Regions from separate parts of the Homo sapiens genome. Here regions 2 and 3 are each linked to region 1. Evidence: promoter capture Hi-C in 16 types of primary human blood cells and fetal thymus (Javierre and others, 2016). All regions are on one chromosome and are shown on one strand. Each heading gives the region's core, a stretch centred on a gene start or on the middle of the fragment in contact. The rest is flanking DNA. Distances are from core to core; before and after follow the strand shown.

Region 1 (3,208 bases), core at 504-3,003:
ACCAAGATGTGGTTAGAACAATTTATGATATAAGAAGGGTGTGAAAGCAACCATGTGAAATCACCCTTTTCCAAGTTCTGAAAAACAATTATGTGTACAATAGTTTGTACTATATCGTCATGTGTTTGAGGTTCTTTCCTTCTATTTTTACATGTAATCTCTCCCAATCACTCTAACACCTTAAATACCTTAACACTCTAACGCCGTAAACCCTAAGTGTTCAAATTCTTTCATACACATTCATTTACTGTGCACCGACTACGTGCATTAAGAAAGGGTCCCTGCCACTGAGCAGCTCACTGTCCAGTAGGGAAAGCCAGATCCATAAACAGGTACCGCAAGACAGTAGAGCTGGTACAACTGATAGAAGATGTAGAAGTTGGGAAGAAAAGGACAAGAGTTCCAAAGCCGCAATGCAAGTCAACAACTGCATTCCCTTAGCCAGAAGTAGCAGAACCTGTTTTTGTACCCATCCACTCCCTCTAGACAACTCATTAGATGAGTGACATGAAGACCATCTTTGCAGTTGGGATAATTAATTGAAGTCAGTTAAAAATGAATAAGCCTTCCTAAAAGGGACTAGAGAGGAAAAATAAAGGGTGGTAGAGTGTAAACTGGAAGTAGGTTAAGGGATCATGCTTATAGAGATGCTTAAAGTTGCGCTTTAACTGTAATTTCAAAGTCAGGGTAATCTGTATTTCAACATGAGTCCTTAACACAAATTATTTTTATGAAGAATAAAGATTTAGGAGATGATGAGATCTAATACATCCAGAATAACCAATTATAACAAAGACCCTCAGTCAAATAGTTGGTAGTAGATAAAAGGCTTTATATGAATATTACAAGAATCACCACCACTCCAAATATAATAAGTGTACCAAATATGAAGTAAAATGACTTTAACAAGGCTGACTTGAAAGTGATAAAGAAGCAAGTTACTGCTAACAAGATAGTGGAAATACTGCACAGGCACCGATAAACAGAAATCACCAAGCTCAAGGAAAGAGAAACGAGGCATAGATCCAGAGATCACGTTAGGGTACACCAAGAAAGAGACGGTTCAAGGGAATTACCAGGAGGCGATGAGCCAGGTAAGCAAATTGTGGCAGTTAAGGGGATTTTCATAACCTGAGCAGGAGGGTCCAGACGTTTCTTTCTGATGGTGGCACTAGCGATATCACATCTCAGGGAGATACCACAGAGTAGGAGAGTTGGAGAAATGTTTACGTGAGACGCAGAAGTAGTCAAGAAATATCACTCGGGTCTCAAGGAAGGCGGGAGATGAAGCCGGTACCACAGAAAGCCGAGCTTCCCGGTGAAAACAGCTCTCCCCAGAGAAGACCCAGCTCTGGCGGGAAAGCCCCGGAATCGCAACCGGCCTTTCCCCAAGTACGGCTGGGCGCTGGGATGGGGCCTGCTGTAACGGCAGGGAGACGGTCTCTCCGCGGCCCAGGAGAGAGAGACCAGAAGGAACGGCCTCAGGTAGCCTAACGGCCACCGGCGGCCACAGCGCGGCCACCGGACAGCAGGGGGGAGGGGAGGTGGTCCCAGGGGGCGGGGCAGAGGAAAAGGCGCCGGCCCCACAGTGCTCCCCGCTTCCGCCCAGTCCAGCCCGGGCCGGCTGACCGGGTCCGACACAGTCTCCTGGACCAGGCTCCCTCCATCCTCACCCCTCCCCCAGCTTCCCGCCGCCACTCACCGAACCGGAACCGGCTGCCATGCGAAGGGGTTTCCGGCCGGGCGCGGAACGCAAAACCCGGGAACCGCCGCGAACCGGAACCGCCTTCACAGCACCGGAAGAGTCGCTAGGTGGCTGAAGAGGAGGGGGCTGGGGCAGGAGGTCAAAGAACAGAGTTAAGGACCAGTGGGGCGCCTGCGCGGTGTGGCGAGGCCCGAGAAGCGAAGGGAGCATTTAAGACTAGTCGTAATTTCTCAGTACCCTTTTCAGTCTGGGCTTTTTCGCTTTCTCGTACTCGGAATACTGTTAGTGAGCCCTTCGTCCTATGCTTTTCTCTGTTCCCTCTGCTCCCTTACCCGCCGCCTTCTGGTTCCGCCCGGCGAGTTTTGCTTGCTTGCGTTCCAGTTTCCATGGCAGCTTTTCGCGGTGGCCCTAAATCTGCGGAAACCTGTGGCTTCCCCCGACAGATAGGGACCTGAGATCTAAATCGATCTCAGGCTATCTCGTGTTTTATTGAGAATCACAGAACGTTAGTGCTTGTAGAGGTTATTGGAGATACTTTAGTCTTACCAGGTTCAGAGAAGTGAAGTGATTTCCCAAAGGTTTTAAGTGCACGGCCCATCTAGGACTAGGAAACAAGTTTCTTAACTTGCAATCCTGTACTCTGCACCACCTCATACTTGATTGACCATTCAGCAAGCAAACAAACAAACAAACAAGCAACTTGAGGACGGATTAGGCTAGACTCTGGCAAGATGTAGAACCTTCCAGAACTCTGGAGGAATTTGAAACAGGCAGAGCTGTGAGGAAAGCTTTTGGGAGCCCACTAGAGATCTGCTTTTCTGGGTAGAGATAGAGAAGGACCCAGGAATCACCTGTGACCTTTGAAGGGCTTTGTTGTTCCTGGGACACATTGATTAACCTGGAATCTGCCATACTTTCTAAGAGAACATAATGGGAAGAAATATGTTTGTTCATTCAGGCTTTTTGTCAAGCACCTCAGCTTGGCAGGCCTCTGGACCCAGGCCCTGTAGAAGTCTTAGAGAAATGCCCCCTTAATAGGTCCTTTACACCCAGATCACAGCCACAGGCACAGTCTGAGCTCAGACTTAAAGAAGGGCAGTTTCTGGAGGCCCCCAGCCTTTCTGATACTCTCAGCAGCTTGCTGAGTTCAGGGTTTCCTCCCCTGTCAAATACATCAAAGTAGATTATTTGTATTGCCTCATGTGCTGATACTTTTATATTATATTGTCAAGTCCTAAGGCCAAGTAGTCATGAGTGTAGCTGGTCCATGTCAGTCACTGACATCTTATTTCACAGCTCTGTTCGTTTGGATTAAACTCTGTCTCTATTTCTAGGAGGCAGCCATGCATAAAGACGAGTTTCATCTGAAATTTTTCATGTGTGTGATTCAGTCTCGCCAGTTAGTCAGGACTCCTCAGAGAACAGGTACCCTTGTCTCCTGATCATACTCCAGTGACAGAGAATGGGTTCTCTCACAAGAAGTCTAAATACAGGATGTGAGGC
Region 2 (3,416 bases), core at 110-2,609, 350 kb after region 1:
ATATATACCACATTTTCTTTTTCCAGTCCACTGTTAATGGGCATCTAGGTTGATTCCATGTCTTTGCTATTGTGAAAAGCGCTGTGATGAACATATGCATACATATGTCTTTATGGTCAAATCAGAGTTTTGACTGCCAATTTTAAGCAGCTCACCAAACCCATGGCTTGGGATGCAGACAGAGTTGTTACAGATCTCAGAGAAACGTCAGCAGAACAGCAGTCTTTGTCAGAGACACAACCATATTCAGCCAAGTTTTTCTTTCAGATCTTCCAGGTTTTGGAGCAGAGAGGCTGAAGAAAAGATTTAAATAACAAGAAAACCTGGAGTTGAGCAGCACCTAAAGATCAGTGAGCAGCTCCAACATGATTGTACAGAAGAGCTAACAGGCACTGGAAGTCTAGAGAACAGGCAGAGATACCCCCTGCACTGTGTAAAATTATGAAAAATGTATCCATGAGGTAAGATTTGATACATACACATAAATGATCAAAATCTGTCCTTCATTGTCTGTTTGACAGTGAATAAGTTTCTTCGCCTTCTATTACTCAGTTGCCTTATTTATAGAACACTAACAATCATAGTAACTACTCAGTGAATTTTCACAATGGTTAAATAGTGATAATAATTAAAAAATAACGTGATTGAATCCTTACCATGTGCCATACGCTATTTTAAGTGTTTTACACTGATTATCTCATTTCTTCTCACAAAAAGTATAAGAGCATATAAAGCTCTTAGCTAATATTATGTCAGTAGTTTGTACTCAATAAATTATCATTTAAAAGTCTGTAAAGCTTTCTCTATATCTCAACGAAGTAGGGAAAACACATTTTTTAAGCAGCTCAGCCAACAACAATTGTTTTCCAGGCACTGTATTGGGCCCTGGGTATATAAAGACGAGTAGGAGAGAGTCTCTGCCTTTAAGACACTCACACTGTAATGAGGAATAAAGTTATACTGACAGCTGTAATGCAGTATAGTAAGTTATACTCTACCAGTGTGACAAGATTGCTATGGGAGTTCAGAGGAGGAAAAATTCAAGCTGTATCAAGTGGTCAGGGAAATAGTTACAGGAAAGATACCATTTGACCCTGCCTTATCTAGAGAAGCAAGTCTTAGAACGAGGAGTGGCAGAAGTCTTCCCGGCAGAGGAACCAGTTTAGTAAAGGAAGAGAGATGTGAACAGGTAGCATTTGAGATTAAGATCATGGACTCTGGAGCCAAAGAGGGTTAAATTTGAATCCCAACTCTGCTCCTCGCCTGCCGTGACCTTGGGAAAGCTATTTCTCTTTGTTTCTTTGCCTGGAAAATGGCTTTGACAATTGTTCTCCATGTTAGGTTGGTTGTGAGGATGAAATGAGATGTTCACATAACATTTAGCATATTGTCTAGCCCATTAGTGCTGTGTTATTATTAATATATTTCCCTCTGTCTAGGTTCTCATCAGTTGAAAAAACTGAACTATCTGTTAATTATCAGCTTTTTTCTTCTTTGGCAAGCAGAATAAACCACATTAAATGCACACATCAATTGTAAGAAGCAGCTGAATCTCAGAAACACCAAAGTACGAAAAGTGTGCATCTTCAAATCAAGGAAAGCATATTATCACCATTATGAGGACCAGTCTGCCAAGAATCTTTCATAGGATGCTGAATATTTAGATGTGATCCTACTGTTAAAATCTTTCCTTTCTTGGTGGTTTCTAGATACTTTGTAGCTCCTAAATCATGCATTAAGTTTAGTGTGTAGTTACTTGTGTCTGTCTCCCCTATTAATATGTGGTCTCTGTGTAATATGTCCCCAGCACATCGTGGGTAATCCATAGACTATGAAATTAAATGGAATCAGACCAAGCTGGGGGTGGTATAGAGTGAGAGGTGACCGTAGGGCCCCAGGCCCGAACTCAGAAGAATGGGCCGTAAGCTTGGTGCCAAATGAATGCAACAAGCAGTTTTTTGTTGTTGTTGTTGGTGGTGGTGGTGGTGGTGGTGGTGGTTTTTTATTTTTGTTTAGTTTTTTTGTTTGTTTGTTTTTTGAGATGGAGTTTCACTCTGTGGCCCAGGCTGGAGTGTGATGTCTTGATCTCAGCTCACTGCAACCTCTGCCTTATGGGTTCAAGTGATGCTCCTGCCTCAACCTCCTGAGTAGCTGGGATTACAGGTGTCTGCCACCACACCCGGCTAATTTTTGTATTTTTAGTAGAGACGGGTTTTCACCATGTTGGTCAGGCTGGTCTCGAACTCCTGACCTTGTGATCTGCCTGCCTCGGCCTCCCAAAGTTGGATTTGCTCTAGTCCCGGGCTTCTCTGCCAGGGAAAATTGTTCTGATGGTGTTTGGCCCCTCCAAGCCTGTCTCTAATGGGATGGGGAAGTCAGCTTCGGCTTCGGTGCCCAGAAGCTGTGAGCCTCTCCAGTCTGCTGCCTCCTTGGCTTTGGGTCCTCTTTCTGTGTGGCATTCTCTACCTCCACAATGACACTGAAATTGTGTCCTGCGGGAGAAGCAGCTATGAGGCCATTGAGCATCATTACCCAGAGGACGGGATGACTGGGGAGTGATGTTCTGCCTGGCGTTCCAGGGTCTCCTTATTGCAAGTTGGCACTTGTCCCTTCAGGCCCCAGCAGCTTCTCCCTCCTCTGACAGATCACAGAAAGCTTAGTTGACAGGAGTTTGAGGAAGCAGCTCCCCAGTGTCTGAGCCCAGGAACAATTGCTGAAGGCAAGGGTGGCCTGTGCTTTACTTCCCTCACCTACAGACTTTTGAAGAAACTGGCCAGAGGCCCACCTTGTTTTCGGCTTCCTCTCAGCAGAAATATCAGAAATGCAGAAAAGGAGGCAGACACCCTTGAGGCTTTCCTAGTGAACTCCAGCCTGACCTGCTGGAGTCAATTAAATGCACAAACTGCCCTTGGCCTCATTCACTGCAACTGCTCAGCAGCTAGTGAGGAGAATATTCTGGATTTAGAGAATATTTGTTGATTGGTACAGGAGAGGGATCTAAACAGTCAAAACTCTGAGCTATATGCATTGAAAACACATAACTCAGTATTTGAGTTAAACATACATGGAATTTTATTATCGGGGTGTTTGGACAGAATAGGCTTCTCTTTCCCATAATTGTTCATATCACCTTTCTACTGCTGTATTTTAACAACCACCTCTCTGTTGACCTCCATACCTGATTCATATGCTTATTTACTGCATGGCTCACCCAAACGTTACTGTTAACTACAAAGTAGCTTCTCAAGGACAGGGACCAGTCTCCTCCAGTTATTTTATTCCCAATTTGTATCTTAGTGCTCAAGACATGGGTGTTTAATAAATGTTTACAAAATATTAGTGTTACCATCAACATCATGATCTCTAGTCATTATTGTTTTATGCCTGACACCTGCTCCACAGAGGATACCTTGATT
Region 3 (3,580 bases), core at 602-3,101, 390 kb before region 1:
CTGTTACAAAGTGATTCAGAATCTACTAGTGAGTTTGCTGGAAAGTTATTACCATCAGAACTACCAGTTAGGTTATTCTTCAGTCAACAAACATCTTCTGATCACTTACTATGTGTCAGGTTGTGTTCTAAGTGCTGGCAATCCATGGAGTTCTGAATTCAGCCACATTTTATGCTAAACAGAATTTTGTGTGCTGAGCTGGAATCCTAACCATCATTTCCAATATGTTTTTCTATAGGAAAGGGGTTCTGAGTTGCAAATCAGAAACTTGAAGATGAAATGGCTACTACGCTGGGTATTGCCTTTATCTTGAATGCCAGCCTGATGGTCCAAGGTGAACAAGCCTTCCTGTGTTTTCTGAATGGTAAGAAAAAGTGGGGACACAAGGACAGCAGAAAAGGCATAGGCTCTGATTCCGGCTGATCTCGGCCTGGGTCTCCCTGCCTGGGGAAGGAGGTGTATGTGTGTGTGCTAATATATATGTGGTGCTAATGTATAATACATATGCTTATATGGTGATATGGTTTGGCTGTGTCCCCCCTCAAATCTCATCTTGAATGGTAGCTCACATAATTCCCATGTGTCACGGGAGGGACCTGGTGAGAGGTAACTGAATCATGGGGACGGGTTTTTCCTGTGCTGGTTCTCGTGATAGTGAATAAGTCTCACGATATCTTATGGTTTTATAAAGTGCAGTTCCCCCGCACTTTGCCTGCCACCATGTAAGATGTGTCTTTGCGCCTCCTTTGCCTTCCACCATGATTGTGCGGCCTCCCCAGCCATGTGGAACGGTGAGTCTATTAAACCTCTTTTTCTTTACAAATTACCCAGTCTCGGGTATTTCTTCATAGCAGTATGAAAATGGACTAATACATATGGTGTTTTTGTATAAATTGAAAAAAAGCTTCCATACGAGTGGAAGCAGCTCTGTGGGTGCTTGACTGGCTACCACCTTTGGGCAAATTCAGAAAACACACTTGTTTCTCTCAGCAGACACAACTCTTCACCAGTGCACAAAACCTGATGAGAAGGATACAGACTGGATTTTGGTCCAGCTTGCTGCTTAACTAGGTTCCCTTGCACAACGCACAACCTGTGCAATGATTATGCAGTGAAATTGATGGCCATTACCTAACGTGGCTTCAGTGACCATGTTTTCAAAACTGGGAGTCAGAGTGCATGGCTTGACATCAAGGCTTTGTGTCACAAAGCAGAAGATCATTAATCTGGGAGTTGACAACATTGGAAGCACCTAAACAAGTTGATTATTCATACAAGATTTTTTTCAAGTATTCATTTAAAACTATGCAGTTAAAGGTGGTGCATGTCCTGTTCTAATTGGTAGGCTGGAAATGATGGTATGGAGATGTTGCACCACGTGGTCCCTTCACTAGAGGAAGAGTGGTATGAATCGTGTCCGTCACTGTGACACCATGCAGTCTTCCTGGCAGTACACAAGTTGTGAGAGTTTGCTACCATTTTTACATTTTTGTGATTTAAAGTGTTGAATAACAATTAATAATGTCATACATACTAAAATATTATTTTTATCATTTTACCCTTTTTTAGAATTTAGTACTTAAACTTTCAAGATATTGTTAAAACTGATATTTCAGACAGAAATTCTAGGTAAATGACATCTACTGTATTTTAAGTTGGGGGCATCCTAGAAAACCTGAGAAAAGTGGTGGCCAAATTCCTGACCCTGCCTCTGTCCCTCAGTGCTTTCTGTCCAGACCCTTAGAGCCCCTGTGAGTCCTGAACGCTGCTCTGGCCTGCTGGACACCCAGGCCAGTGGCCCCTTAGACAGGCTGGACATGCCTTCGTCTCACAAGGAGGCTCACCAGTACACAGATGTTCATAGTCTTCACAGCAGTTCCCATGCCAGAGACACCGGCGGTCACACTGGCAGGCAGCGTCCCGGTTAAATTTCTCATTACATCGAGATGCACAGGATTCTATTTTTCCTATGGGCAGTAAAGGTCACCAACTCAGCTCTATGGAGACCCTGTTCTCCCCAGGGTGCCTCCTGCAGGAGGGTTCACAGACCAGGGCAGGAGTGTACCTGGCAGGGAAGGGCATTACTCTCTGCAAAGGAGAAGTACATCCACAGCCTCCCATGCACAACATAAGCCTCCTCCCCACCACCCAACACCCACCAAATATTTCAAGGCTCATCAAAGAGACCAGGATCACAAACCCAAATCCCTATTTGGGTTAGGCCCATAACATAAGCAAGTAAAGAAGCAGGGTATGAGGCAGTAGGAAGAAATGGAGACCGTGACAAACTTGAGAGCAATGCTCCATCTGAAATTTGCAGCTGATGCTCAGCTCTAGCCGATTGTGGCCATGTTGGGATGTGTGCTCAGTGTTGCCAGAGCCTTCCCTTTTTTTTTCAAGATAAATCTTCATTTTTATGTGAAATTTTCCAACCTTGTAACACTTTAAGCACACCAAAGAAAGAGGTCTGTGAACTGGGTGTAGCCCACAGGCCCCCTTCACCTGTCATGTCATGCTGCCCCAGGGATGTCCCCTGCCCCTGACCCTCCGCTGGCTCTTATTCCATCCCTGTTATGTTATTTGCTTCTTTGCTCTTGTCTCCCCTTCTGGTCTTCTCTGCACGCTCTTTCCCCCTGTGTCACATCTTTCTGTTCTTTCCCGTCTTTGGAGTACATTCAGATGAATTTATGCTCAGGGTGGGGAATGAGGCGGGTGCGGGTGAGAATTGGGCTCTGGCATAGCATTCTATTATGTAACCACAGACCACATCCCCCACTGCAGCCAAATGGTTTGCAGAAGCAAGCTTTTGGTCGCAAGGGACATAAGACAAGACATTTTGAAGGAACAGTGGAAACCCACTATCCACTCTGGGCTTTAAGGGTGATAACAGAGTCTTTGTTCGATTTGAGGTTCCTGAGGTTTGGATTTCACGAACGCTGGGTTCAGAGGTCATACTGTGGGTTACAGAGAATGTCAAGATCAGAGTCAGAGTTACCATCAGCATCAGAATTTGTATCAGTGAGGAAACTGAAACCTAATTTGGACCAGGGTTGGGGTTAGTTAGGTTAAGAACTACAGTTAGGATTTGGGCTTGAGTTAAATTAGTTGATAAATTAACAATTTTGTATTGATATTTGGGTAAGGAATAGGAATAGACTTAAGATGACATTCGGGGTTGAGGAATGTGTCAGGATGAGAAAAAGATGAATAATCCCTGTTTTGTTTGGGGGCTTGGTTCTGGTTATGATTCAATACAGGTGTAGTATCTTAATTTAAGCCTGGAGTGGGTTAGAGCTTAAATATTAGAGGTTGGGTTTGGTTACCAGTCCCTAGTATTGGATTCTGGGATTAAGGTTGATACTTTGTCTAATGAGGGACAGCATAGCAGAGAGGTCAAGAACCTAGACTCTGGCGCCAAACTGCTTGAGGCTGGAATTCTGGTTCTACTGCTTTCTAGCTATGTGATCTTGGGCAAGTTATTTGAACTTCTGTGCGTTGGTTTTCGTATCTGTAAAAGTGGGATGATAATGGAGCCTATCTCATAGAATATTTGTAAGAATTAAATGAGTTAATATATGTA

Evidence for each region. Contacts are between HindIII fragments. The CHiCAGO score rates a contact against its expected background, and 5 or more counts as called.
Region 2: a contact is called between a fragment that was not itself captured here and the fragment with the promoter of SENP1 in region 1, in 4 of 17 cell types (M2 macrophages, M1 macrophages, naive CD4 T cells and 1 more). The highest score is 5.7, in M2 macrophages.
Region 3: a fragment that was not itself captured here is called in contact with the fragment with the promoter of SENP1 in region 1 in 1 of 17 cell types (fetal thymus); the score reaches 5.0 in fetal thymus.

Annotation. Positions count from the first base shown.
Region 1 is chr12:48,104,326-48,107,533 of GRCh38, forward strand. It overlaps SENP1 (SUMO specific peptidase 1), which reads right to left and starts at 1,754. Exons shown (of 18, transcript NM_001267594.2): 1 at 1,703-1,754. It also overlaps a transcript of PFKM not described here. RefSeq lists enhancers at 751-1,626, 1,132-1,341, 1,627-2,500 and a silencer at 1,482-1,621. The HindIII fragment of the contact is 3,654 bases long and covers 1-2,491 here.
Region 2 is chr12:48,455,314-48,458,729 of GRCh38, forward strand. It overlaps a transcript of C12orf54 not described here. Among named protein-coding and RNA genes, the nearest start is that of ANP32D, 16 kb to the right of the region's middle. The HindIII fragment of the contact is 1,129 bases long and covers 796-1,924 here.
Region 3 is chr12:47,718,909-47,722,488 of GRCh38, forward strand. It overlaps ENDOU (endonuclease, poly(U) specific), which reads right to left. Exons shown (of 10, transcript NM_001172439.2): 2 at 1,845-1,967. It overlaps RPAP3-DT (RPAP3 divergent transcript), which reads left to right. Exons shown (of 4, transcript NR_183480.1): 2 at 239-364; 3 at 692-791. Among named protein-coding and RNA genes, the nearest start is that of ENDOU, 4.8 kb to the right of the region's middle. The HindIII fragment of the contact is 1,899 bases long and covers 903-2,801 here.